Linked DNA regions of Homo sapiens: regions 2 and 3 are each linked to region 1. Evidence: promoter capture Hi-C in 16 types of primary human blood cells and fetal thymus (Javierre and others, 2016). All regions are on one chromosome and are shown on one strand. Each heading gives the region's core, a stretch centred on a gene start or on the middle of the fragment in contact. The rest is flanking DNA. Distances are from core to core; before and after follow the strand shown.

What was found. The method cuts DNA at HindIII sites, captures the fragments that hold promoters and counts their contacts. A CHiCAGO score of 5 or more calls a contact.
Region 2: the fragment with the promoter of PMPCA here is called in contact with the fragment with the promoter of ENTPD8 in region 1 in 1 of 17 cell types (erythroblasts); the score reaches 5.6 in erythroblasts.
Region 3: the fragment with the promoter of INPP5E here is called in contact with the fragment with the promoter of ENTPD8 in region 1 in 1 of 17 cell types (total CD4 T cells); the score reaches 7.4 in total CD4 T cells.

The regions. Positions count from the first base shown.
Region 1 is chr9:137,438,300-137,442,606 of GRCh38, reverse strand. ENTPD8 (ectonucleoside triphosphate diphosphohydrolase 8) reads left to right here and starts at 1,250. Exons shown (of 10, transcript NM_001033113.2): 1 at 1,250-1,321; 2 at 4,302-4,307. RefSeq lists a silencer at 1,096-1,390. The HindIII fragment of the contact is 13,084 bases long and covers 429-4,307 here.
Region 2 is chr9:136,407,800-136,412,106 of GRCh38, reverse strand. It overlaps PMPCA (peptidase, mitochondrial processing subunit alpha), which reads right to left and starts at 1,449. Exons shown (of 13, transcript NM_015160.3): 1 at 1,368-1,449; 2 at 1-110. The coding sequence starts at 1,438. ENTR1 (endosome associated trafficking regulator 1) reads left to right here and starts at 1,493. Exons shown (of 10, transcript NM_001039707.2): 1 at 1,493-1,779; 2 at 1,868-2,017; 3 at 3,040-3,108; 4 at 4,169-4,281. The coding sequence starts at 1,710. RefSeq lists enhancers at 1,211-1,260, 1,291-1,380, 2,231-2,390 and silencers at 1,591-1,680, 1,821-1,870. The HindIII fragment of the contact is 5,612 bases long and covers 602-4,307 here.
Region 3 is chr9:136,437,026-136,441,332 of GRCh38, reverse strand. INPP5E (inositol polyphosphate-5-phosphatase E) reads left to right here and starts at 1,488. Exons shown (of 10, transcript NM_019892.6): 1 at 1,488-2,725. The coding sequence starts at 1,914. SEC16A (SEC16 homolog A, endoplasmic reticulum export factor) reads left to right here. Exons shown (of 32, transcript NM_014866.2): 32 at 1-1,228. RefSeq lists silencers at 1,330-1,529, 1,580-1,759, 1,820-2,309 and enhancers at 1,382-2,015, 2,016-2,650, 2,600-2,709, 2,651-3,284. The HindIII fragment of the contact is 4,062 bases long and covers 1,145-4,307 here.

The DNA of each region.
Region 1 (4,307 bases), core at 1-2,500:
TAGCCTGGGTGACAGAGCGAGACTCCATCTCAAAAAAAAAAAAAAAAAAGGACAACTTCCCAGACTCATTTTATAAGCCCAGCATTATCCCCATACAGAAACCAGGACTAAAAAAGAAAACTATGCAACTTTGTTGAACACAACTGCAAAAATCCTCAACAAACACATTTGACTCTTATGACCCATGGCAGCTAGTGTATAAAGTTGCTGCAAACACTGAATTAAAGAATATGCTAAACTATTGCTCCTAAGGGAAATGCAAAGTTCTGTTCCTGCAAGCTTCTGGTCACATTTTTGTTAAATGATCAATATATTAATAAAACCTTCTTTTATGTGTATTTTTGTTTAAGGGCACCTTACTTAATATGTATTGTATCACTAACATTGAACTCATGGCCAACAGCGCTAACTCTTGCACGAATGAAGCTTATCCAATGTGTGTTTTCTCTGTAAAGTGCATCTCAGCCTTCTTGCATTTCTGCACTATGCTGAGACGCCATTATAAACAGTGAAATCACCAAGAAAAAGCACAAAAATGCACACACATGACACCAAATATGCTACCAGTAAAGAGAGTCCCGATTGAGACCCCAAGAGGGTTCTTGGATCTCACACAGAAAGGAATTCACCGCCCCCCCGCATTCCCCCACCCTATTCCCCGCCCCCCAACACCCCCAGCCCCACCCAGCCCGGCCCTGGCTCCGCGCCTCCCCCAGCCCCGCCCCGCTTCAGAGGCCCGGACCCCGACGGCGGCGGCCCCGGGACCCACGGCGAGCGGGAAAGGCAGAGTGGCTGCAAATGGAAAACGACGGGCGCCGCGGGGCTGCAGGCGCTTCCGCCCCCGCCCCGGGCCTGGACCTTCGGGGTCACCTGACTCCGACCTGCCCGGGCCGGGCGGCACGGGGGGTAAAGTCCGGGCCGGGGTCAGGAGCGCGGCTGCGGGCCGTGGGGGGCGGGGTCCCGGAGTTCTGCCCCTCGCAGCTCCAGGCTCCTCCTCAGCTTCCCTCTCCTGCCTCCCACCCCCCCGGGGGCGGGGCGACCCTGGGCACCGAGACAGACCCGCGGGTGGGAGATGCGGGGAGACCCTGGGCGGGGGACCCGAGGGTGGAGTGGGCGGGGCGACCTTGGGCGCTGGCCTCAGCCTGCGGGCCCTGGAGCCAGGTGCACAGCGCATCGCCCGAGGCTGTCACCGCCCTGCCCCGCCCACCCCAGCTGTCCTGGACCCAGGGGCAGGGAGAGGCTGGACGCCAGGTGCGCGGACACAGAAGCGTCTAAGCACAGCTTCCTCCTTGCCGCTCCGGGAAGTGGGCAGCCAGCCCAGGTGAGGGTCCAAAGGGATGTCCTGGGGGGGCTGTCCTGGTCTGGGGGGCTGTCCTGGTCTGGGGGGCTGTCCTGGTCTGGGGGGCTGTCCTGGTCTGGGGGGGCTGTCCTGGTCTGGGGGGCTGTCCTGGTCTGGGGGGGCTGTCCTGGTCTGGGGGACTGTTCTGTCTGAGGGGGTGTCCTGGTCTGGGGGGGCTGTCCTGGTCTGGGGGGCTGTCCTGGTCTGGGGGGCTGTCCTGGTCTGGGGGGCTGTCCTGGTCTGGGGGGGCTGTCCTGGTCTGGGGGGCTGTCCTGGTCTGGGGGGGCTGTCCTGGTCTGGGGGACTGTTCTGTCTGAGGGGGTGTCCTGGTCTGGGGGGGCTGTCCTGGTCTGGGGGGCTGTCCTGGTCTGGGGGGCTGTCCTGGTCTGGGGGGGGCTGTCCTGGTCTGGGGGGCTGTCCTGGTCTGGGGGGGCTGTCCTGGTCTGGGGGGCTGTCCTGGTCTGGGGGGGCTGTCCTGGTCTGGGGGACTGTTCTGTCTGAGGGGGTGTCCTGGTCTGGGGGGGCTGTCCTGGTCTGGGGGGCTGTCCTGGTCTGGGGGGGCTGTCCTGGTCTGGGGGGGGCTGTCCTGGTCTGGGGGGCTGTCCTGGTCTGGGGGGGCTGTCCTGGTCTGGGGGGCTGTCCTGGTCTGGGGGGGCTGTCCTGGTCTGGGGGACTGTTCTGTCTGAGGGGGTGTCCTGGTCTGGGGGGCTCTCCTGGTCTGGGGGGGGCTGTCCTGGTCTGGGGGGCTGTCCTGGTCTGGGGGACTGTTCTGTCTGAGGGGGTGTCCTGGCCTGGGGGGCTCTCCTGGTCTGGGGGGGGGCTGTCCTGGTCTGGGGGGCTGTCCTGGTCTGGGGGGGGCTGTCCTGGTCTGGGGGCTGTCCTGGTCTGGGAATCTGTTCTGTGTGAGGGGGTGTCCTGGTCTGGGGGGCTCTCCTGGTCTGGGGGGGGCTGTCCTGGTCTGGCGGGGGCTGTCCTGGTCTGGGGGGCTGTCCTGGTCTGGGGGGCTGTCCTGATCTGGGAGTCTGTTCTGTGTGAGGGGGTGTCCTGGTCTGGGGGGGCTGTCCTGGTCTCAGGGACTGTTCTGTGTGAGGGGATGTCCTGGCCTGGGGGACTCTCCTGGTCTGGGGGGGCTGTCCTGGTCTGGGGGGGCTGTCCTGGTCTGGGGGGCTGTCCTGGTCTGGGGGGGCTGTCCTGGTCTGGGGGACTGTTCTGTCTGAGGGGGTGTCCTGGTCTGGGGGGCTCTCCTGGTCTGGGGGGGGCTGTCCTGGTCTGGGGGGCTGTCCTGGTCTGGGGGACTGTTCTGTCTGAGGGGGTGTCCTGGTCTGGGGGGCTCTCCTGGTCTGGGGGCACTGTCCTGGTCTCGGGGGGGCTGTTCTGGTCTGGGGGGCGCTTTCCTGGTCTGAGGAGCTGTTCTGATCTGGGAGGCTGTTCTGGTCTTGGGGGTCTTTTGAGTGTGGGAGAGGTTGCCCCAACCTCTTTGCCTACCTGGAGGCTCAGGCCTGGGGGTCTCAGGTGGCTACATCTTCTGGGTGTGGAGTCCCTGTGTTCCTGGCCCCTGTCACCTGTTTGTCCCTATGAGGTGGCCTATGGCCTGGGTGCTGGTTGGGGACACAGGCTGGGCCCTGTCTGGGCTGGACCGGCCTCCTGTCCTCTCTGAGCCTCTGTCATCTACCCTCCTTAAAATGGGCTTATATCCCCCGGACATACAGAATTGCGTGAGGACCCCACAGCGTGTCCCACTTTCCACGTGCCCAGGAGCCCCAGGTCAGGACCAGGGCAGCACCCGCGCCTGCCACTCAGTGTGGGTGCAACGTTTCCCGGGGGAACACGATAGGACACGGTCACATGGGGTTCAGGTGCCGGGACCTTGGCAGGCAGCCTCTGGCTTTGACCACTCCTTTGGCAGTGGTACCCGTGTGAAGTGGGGCTGTATGGGGCACAGGGTCGGCCTGGGGTAGTTTGAGAGCTGAGACCCTTGCTGGGCGTTTGGGCAGAGGAGGAGGTGGACACCTCGGCCACAGGGCTAGAGAAGCCCAGGCCCCTCAGATGGCATCCCTGGGTCCACCTCCCGACCAGGCGCCATCTGGCACCAGCTAAGAAGGTGCAGAGTCAGATTAGGGAAGCCTTGGGCTGGATTTCCAGAGAAACCGATGTTGTTAAGAAGCCTCACACTCGGCTTCCTAGGATGGCTGGCCTCACCCTGGGTTCACCCACAGCCCCTCGGCAACAGTCCCCTCAGGGCTCCAGAGAGAAACCCCCACCCTAGGAGTGCCTGGGGTGGGGGCCGCAGAGAGGAGGCAGAGCCCTGGGCCCCCAGTGCAGGCTGGAGCTGTGGCTGCTCCTGGGGAGGGTGGCACGGGAGAGGCAGGACCGAGGGGTGGGGACACAGGGTGGCCCCATCACATGGTGGGGGCAGCTCCGCGAGTCCCATCCGAGGGGGTCCGAGGGGGCTACTTGGATCCTGCTGGGGCTGTGTCCCCAGACGAGGCCTCTGCTGCCCCCCGCCCCCCTCCCACAGGGCCCTCTGATGCCCATGGCACCCCTGGCAGGCGTGGCTCCTGGGGAGTGGTCCTTGGCCACGGGAGGCGTCTGAGCCCCGGGGATGCCTCTATGGCCACGGGAGACCGTCTGAGCCCCGGGGATGCCTCTATGGCCACGGGAGGCCGTCTGAGCCCCGGGGATGCCTCTATGGCCACGGGAGGCCGTCTGAGCCCCGGAGATGCCTCTATGGCCACGGGAGGCCGCCTGAGCCCCGGAGATGCCTCTAAGGCCACGGGAGACCGTCTGAGCCCCGGGGATGCCTCTATGGCCACGGGAGGCGTCTGAGCCCCGGAGATGCCTCTAAGGCAAGTGGCTGTCCAGGGGTGCGTCTCCAGGGAGACGGGGAGCGAAGCCTCTGCCTCTGGAGGGCGGGATGGGGACACCAAGTGCAGCCTGGGTGCCCACGGCCGTCCCCCCACAGGAACCA
Region 2 (4,307 bases), core at 200-2,699, 1.0 Mb after region 1:
CATCAACTGTAGCAAAAACAGGCTTGGGTACTCCAGGTAAGGGAGAAGAGAGGGGGATGTTGGGATAGGCACCACCACTACTAAACCGTCTGTACGCAGGAGGTCCAAACCTAAAACAGAGAAAGCGGCCCAGTTACAACAGGCTTGAGACAACAAACCTGTGATGACCTGTTAGGTGCGGTTAGTTATGTTTTGTCTGGGTTAAAAGTGAGCATCTGCCTTTCTACAGGACTTATTTCTACAGACTTTGGAAGACAAAGCAGAGGCTGACAACAAAGGCTCAGCCACGGGACCTGGAGCAAGCTGGTTCCGTCCTTTGGGTCTTAGTTGCTATCTCTGTAAAAACAGGGCTTATTAACAGTAACTCACTCTAAGTGCAGTTTGTACACATAAAGCACTTAACAGCTCTGCCCTCCAACAGCACCACCGAAGTCTTGGATAAAAGCCATATCCCTTATTAACCTGGTCCGAAGGCGGGGTGTGACTTGGCCTCTGTCTCCCTCTCCAAACTCATCTCTTGAACCCCCACACTCCCATAGGTCCTGGTCACACTGATTCTTGTCAATTCCTGGAACACATTTGACTCATCAACCCCAAAGCTTCTTCACCGTTCCAGGGCTTGCCCTTTGCCCATGCCTACCCCTTCTTTCATTCTTCAGCTCTTCCCTTAAATGTCACCCTGATGGAGGACTATCCCTCACCAGTCTAGTCTTTCCTGCTATTTTCTATCATGAAAGGCTGCTTGTTTACTCCAAAGCATTTACGCGACTGCCGATATTTTGTTTACGCTCCAGCCTGTATCCATCTCCTGGAGGCAGCACCTCCGCACCCCTGAAACGGCGCTCGTTGTGTGGGGAGGGGCGACGCCTGTGCTGTCGGAACAAAGTTCCAGCGTGGGGAAAGGCAGGCCCGGTCACTTGGGTGGGAGGAGCGGTGGGTACGGAAAGGGTTCTTAAACGTCAGAGATCAACGGACAGACCGCAGCAACCGAGAGCCTGGACCCTGGTGTCAGAACCCTGCGGGTCTAACAGAGCTGGGCCCCCACCGGCTCAGCCTCCTGAAGGAGCACGCGGTAGGTGAAGCGCGGGGGCAAATATGAGGCATGGCCTCGGAGAAGGCCCGTCGACCCGGGAAGTGAGGGGGGGAGAGGACCCAGCAGCCGGGGAGAGGAGAGACAGATGGGACTGCGTCCCCGGGCTCGAGGCGCAAAGCAAGGCAGGGCCCCCGTCGCCTCGGGGACACCAGTGTCCCGAAGTGCGAGCCCGTCCCACGGGCGCCATGTCACCTGTAGAAACCGAAGACGGAGCGTCCAGAAAGACTCGAGCCGCCCCCGCCCCAGGCCGAAGCCTGGTTCGCCTTTGGCTCACCTCAGCCGCGAACAGCCCCAAGAACCCGAGCCCCGCAGCAACCGCGTCGCCGCCAGCACCACAGCCGCCATCTTGCGTCTCCGCCCCGCTTCAGTCGTCACTTCCGCTTCCGCCCACGGCTTCCCCTCCCCCTCGCCGACGGCCCAAGGCGTTCAGGCACGCGCTTTCGGTGCTCGGAGCGGAAGCAGCGGCGAGAGGCTCGGAGGCGCGGGGGCGGCCGAGCGGCGGGCGACGGGGGCGGGCGACGGGGGCGGGCGACGCGGGCCGCGGCACGGGCGGAGCCGGGGCCATGGAGCCGCCGCTGCCGGGCTAGGCAGGTCGTGCCCCGCCGGGCCGGCGGCGATGTCGGGCTACCAGCGCCGCCCGGGCGCCACCCCGCTGTCCCGAGCCCGGAGCCTCGCCATTCCCGACGGTGAGCGGGGCAGGGGCCGAGTCCAGCGGTCCAGGTGGGCGGCGGCCGCCCCGGCACGCAGTAAAGTCGCTGTTGTCGTTGCTTCCAGCTCCAGCGTTCTATGAGCGCCGGTCTTGTCTCCCCCAGCTAAATTGTGAGCGCCCCCATGGCAGGGACCTGGACTCCCCCTTCTTCGGCATTCGGCCGGCCTTTATGTGCTATGTGCCCAGCCCGGTGCTGGCTTCCGTGGGAGACACAGGTGAGAGACGAGGGCGCCGGCCCCGGGGACGCTTCCAGTTCCCGCGCCACGTGTGGCACCTCCGCTGCAGCACGAGCTCGTCCATTGACCCATCAATGTGCAGAGCGCTCACTGCGTGCCAGGCACTCGGAATTCAAAGGCGGAGTCCCCTGCTAGGAGCTCACAGTCTGGTTGCGGGGAGACCTCCCCCAAGACAGACAGTTCCAGTACAGGATGGTTAGTGCCCGGGGAGCACAGGAGCCCGCCCGCTTTCCTCGTGGGGCTGGAGTCGGGGTGCCTTCACCTAGTGGGCAGTGATTGGAAACCGAGCTGGAGCATTCCATCTGCCTCCACAGCCGGGCAGTGGCCAGATCTGGTTCGTCCTCGTTCTACCCAAGCAGAAGTGCTGCTGGGTGCCCGGGGTGTGCAGGAGTGTTTGTGTGGTTATGCCAGGATCTGAGGACATTCGGGGGTTGTCACAAGACAAGAGGACGCGCTTGCCCCGGCTGGGCTTCAAAATCTGCTGAGGAGCCGCTTTCAGACCACGGACACCAGGGCCAGTCTGCAAGTCAGGCCATCTCCAGGGTCACAAGTCTGGGAGCTTGTGTTTTTTTTAAAGTTTTCTCGGCTGACCGGGCGCAGTGGCTTACGCCTGTAATCCCAGCACTTTGGGAGGCCGAGGCAGGCGGATCATGAGGTCAGGAGATTGAGACCATCCTGGCTAACAGGGTGAAAACCCGTCTCTACAAAAAATACAAAAAAATTAGCCGGGCGTGGTGGCAGGTGCCTGTAGTCCCAGCTACTCGGGAGGATGAGGCAGGAGAATGGCGTGAACCCAGGAGGCGGAGCTTGCAGGGAGCCGAGATCGCACCACTGCACTCCAGCTTGGGCGACAGAGCAAGACTCCGTCTCAAAAAAAAAAAAAAAGTTCTCTAGACTGTGAGAACCACTGCAGTGGAGACTCCATGTGCAAAAGAAAAAAACCAAATGTGAGGTCATAAAGACTTCCTGCCAGCATGGTGGGTGACATTGTTTCTTTGCAGATTTTGGCTATGGAAAGGGGAAATGTTCTAAGCAGAGCCCGTCAGGAGCCCACGGGACACATTTTGGAGGTAGAGTAGTTCAGCAACCTTTTCTTCTTGTCTCCATCCAACACAGTGCCAGGCACGTGTCTGGTGGGACTGTCAATGTGACTGGCTATGTGGTGTAGCTGGAGCCCAAAAGAGCAGGTGGGGGTGGGATTTCAAGGGTTCAGTCTTGATCCTAGAGTAGCAGCGAGGTGACATCAGGGAGCGGGGAAGCCCCACCTGGGGGGCTGGGGCCACAGGAGCCAGCTTTACATGGGGCTCACAGCTGGGAGGGTCGAGTGTGGCTGCTTAAGTCCCCGGAGGGTGGGAAGGCGGTGGCAAGAGGGAGAAGGGAAAAGTGGGCGTTATTTAGGCTACCTAGGTAGGAAAGTCGGGAAGAGGGTCAGGGGGCACTGGGTCCCCAGCGTTGCAGCACCTGAGGAGCTGGTTGTTGTTGTTGTTTTTTGAGACAGAGTCTCGCTCTGTCGCCCAGGCTGGAGTACAGTGGCACGATCTCGGCTCACTGCAAGCTCCACCTCCCAGGTTCACGCCATTCTCCTGCCTCAGCCTCCCGAGTAGCTGGGACTACAGGCGCTCACCACCACGCCTGGCTAATTTTTTGTATTTTTAGTAGAGATGAGGTTTCACCGTGTTAGCCAGGATGGTCTCAGTCTCCTGACCTCGTGATCCGCCCGCCTTGACCTCCCACAGTGCTGGGGTACAGGCGTGAGCCACCACACCTGGCCACCTGAGGAGCTTTGAGAGCTCCTAGCACAGGTTGACCTCACACCAGGGAGCTGGGTGTGTGCAGTGGAGTGGCTTGGGTCGTTTTAAAGCTCCCCAGGGGAGCTTTAGTGAGCAGCACAGTGTGGGAGCAGGGGCCGAGGGGTGGAAGGAGAAGATTGCAAATGCAGACGCACGTCTGTGTCACTGCCCACCTTCAGCCACCTTCACACTTCCTAGTGCTGCCTGAGTCATGGTAGAATGACAAGCGTGGCTGCCCGATCTCACATGTGGCCATGCTCTGGAAAGACAGGTGAACAGGAAGGTTCCCTTTCAACGCTCTTCAGTAGACTTTATGCATTTGTGATGTCTGTTATTTCAGATGACAGATTTGAAGATCTGGAAGAGGCAAATCCATTCTCTTTTAGAGAGTTTCTGAAGACCAAGAACCTCGGCCTCTCGAAAGAGGATCCGGCCAGCAGAATTTATGCAAAGGTAAATCCACGGCACTGTGGGCGATG
Region 3 (4,307 bases), core at 239-2,738, 1.0 Mb after region 1:
TCCTTTAAGGTGCTGGGAGCAAAGAGAGGGTGACTGAGGCAGACCCCAACCCCTGCTCTGCACCATCTGGGCCCTCGCCGTGTTTGAACCTGGCTGAATGAGTGGAGGGCGCTGTGTTCTCAATCAGCGCCTCCGAGGAGCCGTGGGGTTCCTTCGGCATTAGTTCACGGTTTTTGAGAGAGGCCTTAGTTACTGCAGTGAATTTCTTTCCTGTTGCAAAGACGCTTCCAGCCTCACTTTACTTTCTGTGGCCTGATGAGGACCATGGGTGATTTTGTGTACCCAAAGCGCTGGGGACTGCCCACCGTGTGGCCCAGTCACTGGGAAGGAGCCCCAGAGAGCCGGCTGTCTGACATGATGGCTCAGGGTGGTCATCCAGGTTGAAAACTGACCGTGTGATGTTTGATTTGGGCTTCATTTCGTGTGTAGGAGCACGGTTAGACTCACTGTTAAGGAAGCTGGATGCACTTCTCTAAAAGGCTGCACTTTCCGTGAGCACTTTTCGTGGTACAATCCACATGACCCACTTTCTCCCCTGGGGGACGTTGGTTCAGAGGTTGGTAGCACTTGGGGAGAGTATCTTAACACAGTTTCTTGACAGCAGCTCTGGAACTTAGTATTTCTGCCCCGAGTTTTGCCACACTGAGACTTTGAGTAGCTCCTGGTGGACTCAACCCTGTTCAACTCAGAGACGGGCCTCCTCTCACTGATGCAAAGCTTTAAGGCTTCTCTGACTGTTCTGAAACTCTTCGTATTCTTGTCAAGTCTAAAGAGACTGAAGAAAAGATTTAAATACTAATAAAAATCAGTAGATAATTTCTGTAGGTTCTGCTGGAGGAATACAAACTGTTTGGTGTTTTAAATTTAAGTGTAGAAATTGTAGAATGTGGAATTAGCACAGATCCTTCCTGGCTTTCTGTTTCACTTGATCATTTAGCCCAGACCACCCAGGATGTTTTCCAAAATGTTCCACAGGCGTGTCCCGCTGGATCCATTTGTCCTTGTCACTTGGAGAAAGGCCAGTCCCTGTGACGGGGCAGCCCTCTCTGTCCCTCGGTCAGCTCGTGTGAATCCTGGGACCTCTTCCGGTCGGCTCTGCCCGCTGTTCTGGGGTCGACTGCCACGACTTTTGATTCAAGAAGCTTCCTCCAGGCGGGAGCGGCTATTTTTCCTAAATGAGAATTGTTACATTGCAAATTGTTGAATAAAATATTTTGCGCTCCTTCAAGCACCTTCACCTGTGGTTCCCTTTGGTTTGCTGGAAGCGAGTGAGTGCAGGTGTCCGCAGGCCTCGGCGCTGTCCTGGACCGCACCCAGGTCCTCTCCGGGGACCTGCACCTGCCTCGCTGGGACCTGCCGGACTGCGGGGCTGCCGGGTTGGGAGGGGCGTGGGAGACCCGTCCGGGTCCGGTGCGGCGCAGTCCTCCGGCCGCCAGGGGCCGCTGTGGGCGGGGCCGGGGCGCGGGGCGGGGACCGGGCGCGGCCCCGCGGCGGCGGTTGCTGGGTCCCGGCCGGGCTGACTCCGCTTCTGGGCGGCCGGGCCTCCGCGAGTACCGGGTCGACTTCGGAGTCTGCGAGCCCAGCCAGGGGTGCCCGCTTCCCACCCCTCTCCCCGAGCGGCGTCCCCGTCGGGGTCGAACCTCCCCCGCGACAGGCGCCCAGCCGCCTGTTCCCCCAGGCCTTGCCTGCGGACCGCCCTGGGAACGGCGTCTGGGAGCCCCGAGGGGCTGGCGGGACTCGGGGCCCGGGCCATGCGGCAGCCGCCCCCGCCCCTCCGCGACCATCCCCGGCCCAAGCGGGAGCCGCAGCGGCGTTTCTGCTCCTCGCTGCGCCGGCGACCCCGGACCCGGCACCCGTGACCCCTCGCGCTGCCTGCGGCCTCGCGCCGAGGCCTGCCCCGGGAGAGACCGTCCATGCCGTCCAAGGCGGAGAATCTGCGGCCCTCCGAGCCGGCCCCGCAGCCGCCGGAAGGGAGGACGCTCCAAGGACAGCTTCCCGGCGCTCCGCCGGCCCAGCGCGCGGGGTCCCCACCCGATGCTCCGGGCTCCGAGAGCCCCGCGCTTGCCTGCAGCACTCCGGCCACGCCCAGCGGCGAGGACCCGCCAGCCCGAGCAGCACCCATCGCCCCGCGGCCCCCCGCCAGGCCTCGACTGGAGCGAGCCCTGTCCCTGGACGACAAGGGCTGGAGGAGGAGGCGTTTTCGAGGCAGCCAGGAGGACCTGGAAGCCCGGAATGGGACCAGTCCCTCCAGGGGCTCAGTGCAGAGCGAGGGCCCCGGGGCCCCCGCCCACAGCTGCTCCCCGCCCTGCCTGAGCACCTCCTTGCAGGAAATCCCCAAGTCCCGCGGGGTCCTGAGCAGTGAGAGAGGGAGCCCGTCCTCGGGGGGTAACCCTCTCTCTGGGGTGGCCAGCAGCTCCCCGAACCTCCCGCACAGAGACGCCGCCGTGGCGGGGAGCTCGCCCAGGCTGCCCAGCCTGCTGCCCCCGCGCCCACCGCCTGCCCTGAGCCTGGACATCGCCTCCGACTCCCTGAGGACAGCAAACAAGGTCGACTCGGATCTTGCAGACTACAAGCTCCGCGCGCAGCCGCTCCTGGTGCGGGCCCACAGCAGCCTGGGCCCCGGCCGGCCGCGGAGCCCCCTGGCCTGCGACGACTGTTCCCTTCGCTCGGCCAAATCCTCCTTCAGCCTCCTGGCGCCCATCCGCAGCAAGGACGTCCGCAGCAGGTAGGGAGGGCCTGGCGGGTGCAGCGCCCGCGCCGCCTTCGTTGTAGTGTTCAGGCTGCTGGAACCTCGTGAGACCGTTCCCATCAGCAGCGTTTAAGATGCCTAACCGGAAAGAACGAAGCGGGTCTCCCGCAGCCACCCCATCTCCCAGCCCCACCCCACAGCAGCGCCCTTCCCAGAACTTTTCCTGTGCGTTTCAGAACCATTCGTGGGCGTGACGTTGTGTTAAGGTAGACAGGATGGCATCCTGCATACAATTACGTATCTGGCGCTTTTTCTTGTTTAGTCTTGGGAAATGTCGTCAATGTATACGATCCGCCCCTTTGGTTGTTTTTGTTTGTTACTCTCTCTGTCGCCCAGGCTGGAGTGCAGCGGCGCGATCCCGGCTCACTGCAACCTCTGCCTCCTGGGTTCAAGGGATCCTCCTGCCGCAGCCTCCTGAGAATCTGGGATTACAGGCGCCCGCCACCACACCCAGCTAAATTTTGTATTTTTAGTAGGGGCGGGGTTTCGCCGTGTTGGCGAGGCTGGTCTCGAACTCCTGGCCTCGGCCTCCCAAAGTGCTGGGATTCCCGGCGTGGGCCACTGCGCCCGGCCTGCCCCCTTTGTTTTTTTCTGCGGCAAGAGGCCCCAGATGTGTTGAGGCTACTTTCGTTTAGCCACTTGCTCATGAGGAACATTTTGGTGGGCTCCAGCTGTTGCTGGAAGGAACTGCAGCTGAACCCATGACCTCTCCCAAGCCTGGTCTTGTCTTGGGGTCTCAGTCTGGGGGCCTGTCCTGAGATGCTCCCACTATGACTTGGCAGAGTCACCTGCACCCTTCTTTTCCTCCCCCCACCCCACTGCCATGGTGCCCAAGTCTTGTCTGTCAGCCGCGGCGGGAGGCAGGACAGGTGTGAGAAGGGAGAGGTGTGAGGTGGTTTCTGTGTTGGTGTCCTGGGGCCGTTGTAACTCATGACCACAGACTGGGAGGCTTGCAACAGCAGAGCTGGACTCTCTCCCAGTTCTAGAGGCCAGAAGTCTAAAATCAAGGTGTGGCCACGCAGCCTCTCTCCAGAGGCTCAGGGGAGGGTCCTCCCGCTGCCTCCCGCTCCTGGGGCCCCACTTGTTCCTTGGCTTGTGGCCGCATGCTCCAGTCTCTGCCTCTGTCTTTATGTGGCCTCTTCCCTGTCTCTCTGTGTTCCCCTCTCTTTTTATAAGGACACCAGTCATTGAATTTACTGCCTACCCTAAATCCAGGGTGGTCTTATCTCGAGATCCTTAATTAAACACGTTTGCAAAGACCCCGTTTCCGAATAAGGTCCCATTCCAAGGTTCTGGGGCTCTGGGAGTGGACATGGCTTTGGGGATCACTGTTCAGCTCACCACAGTCCCCGAAGGTAGCCTCACTTCCCCGCGTCTGTGGTGCACCAGCAGGCAGGTGGGCTCAGGCCTGGAGTGAGGGCCCGTGCCTGGCGCCCCCACCATACTCTCCTCCTGTCATGGATGGAGCAGGTGCGATCACATCCAGGGCAAGACTGCTGCTTTTGTTAAAATAATTCACTGCAGGGCTTCTCGTAAAGAGTGAGATTTCTTAGTGCAT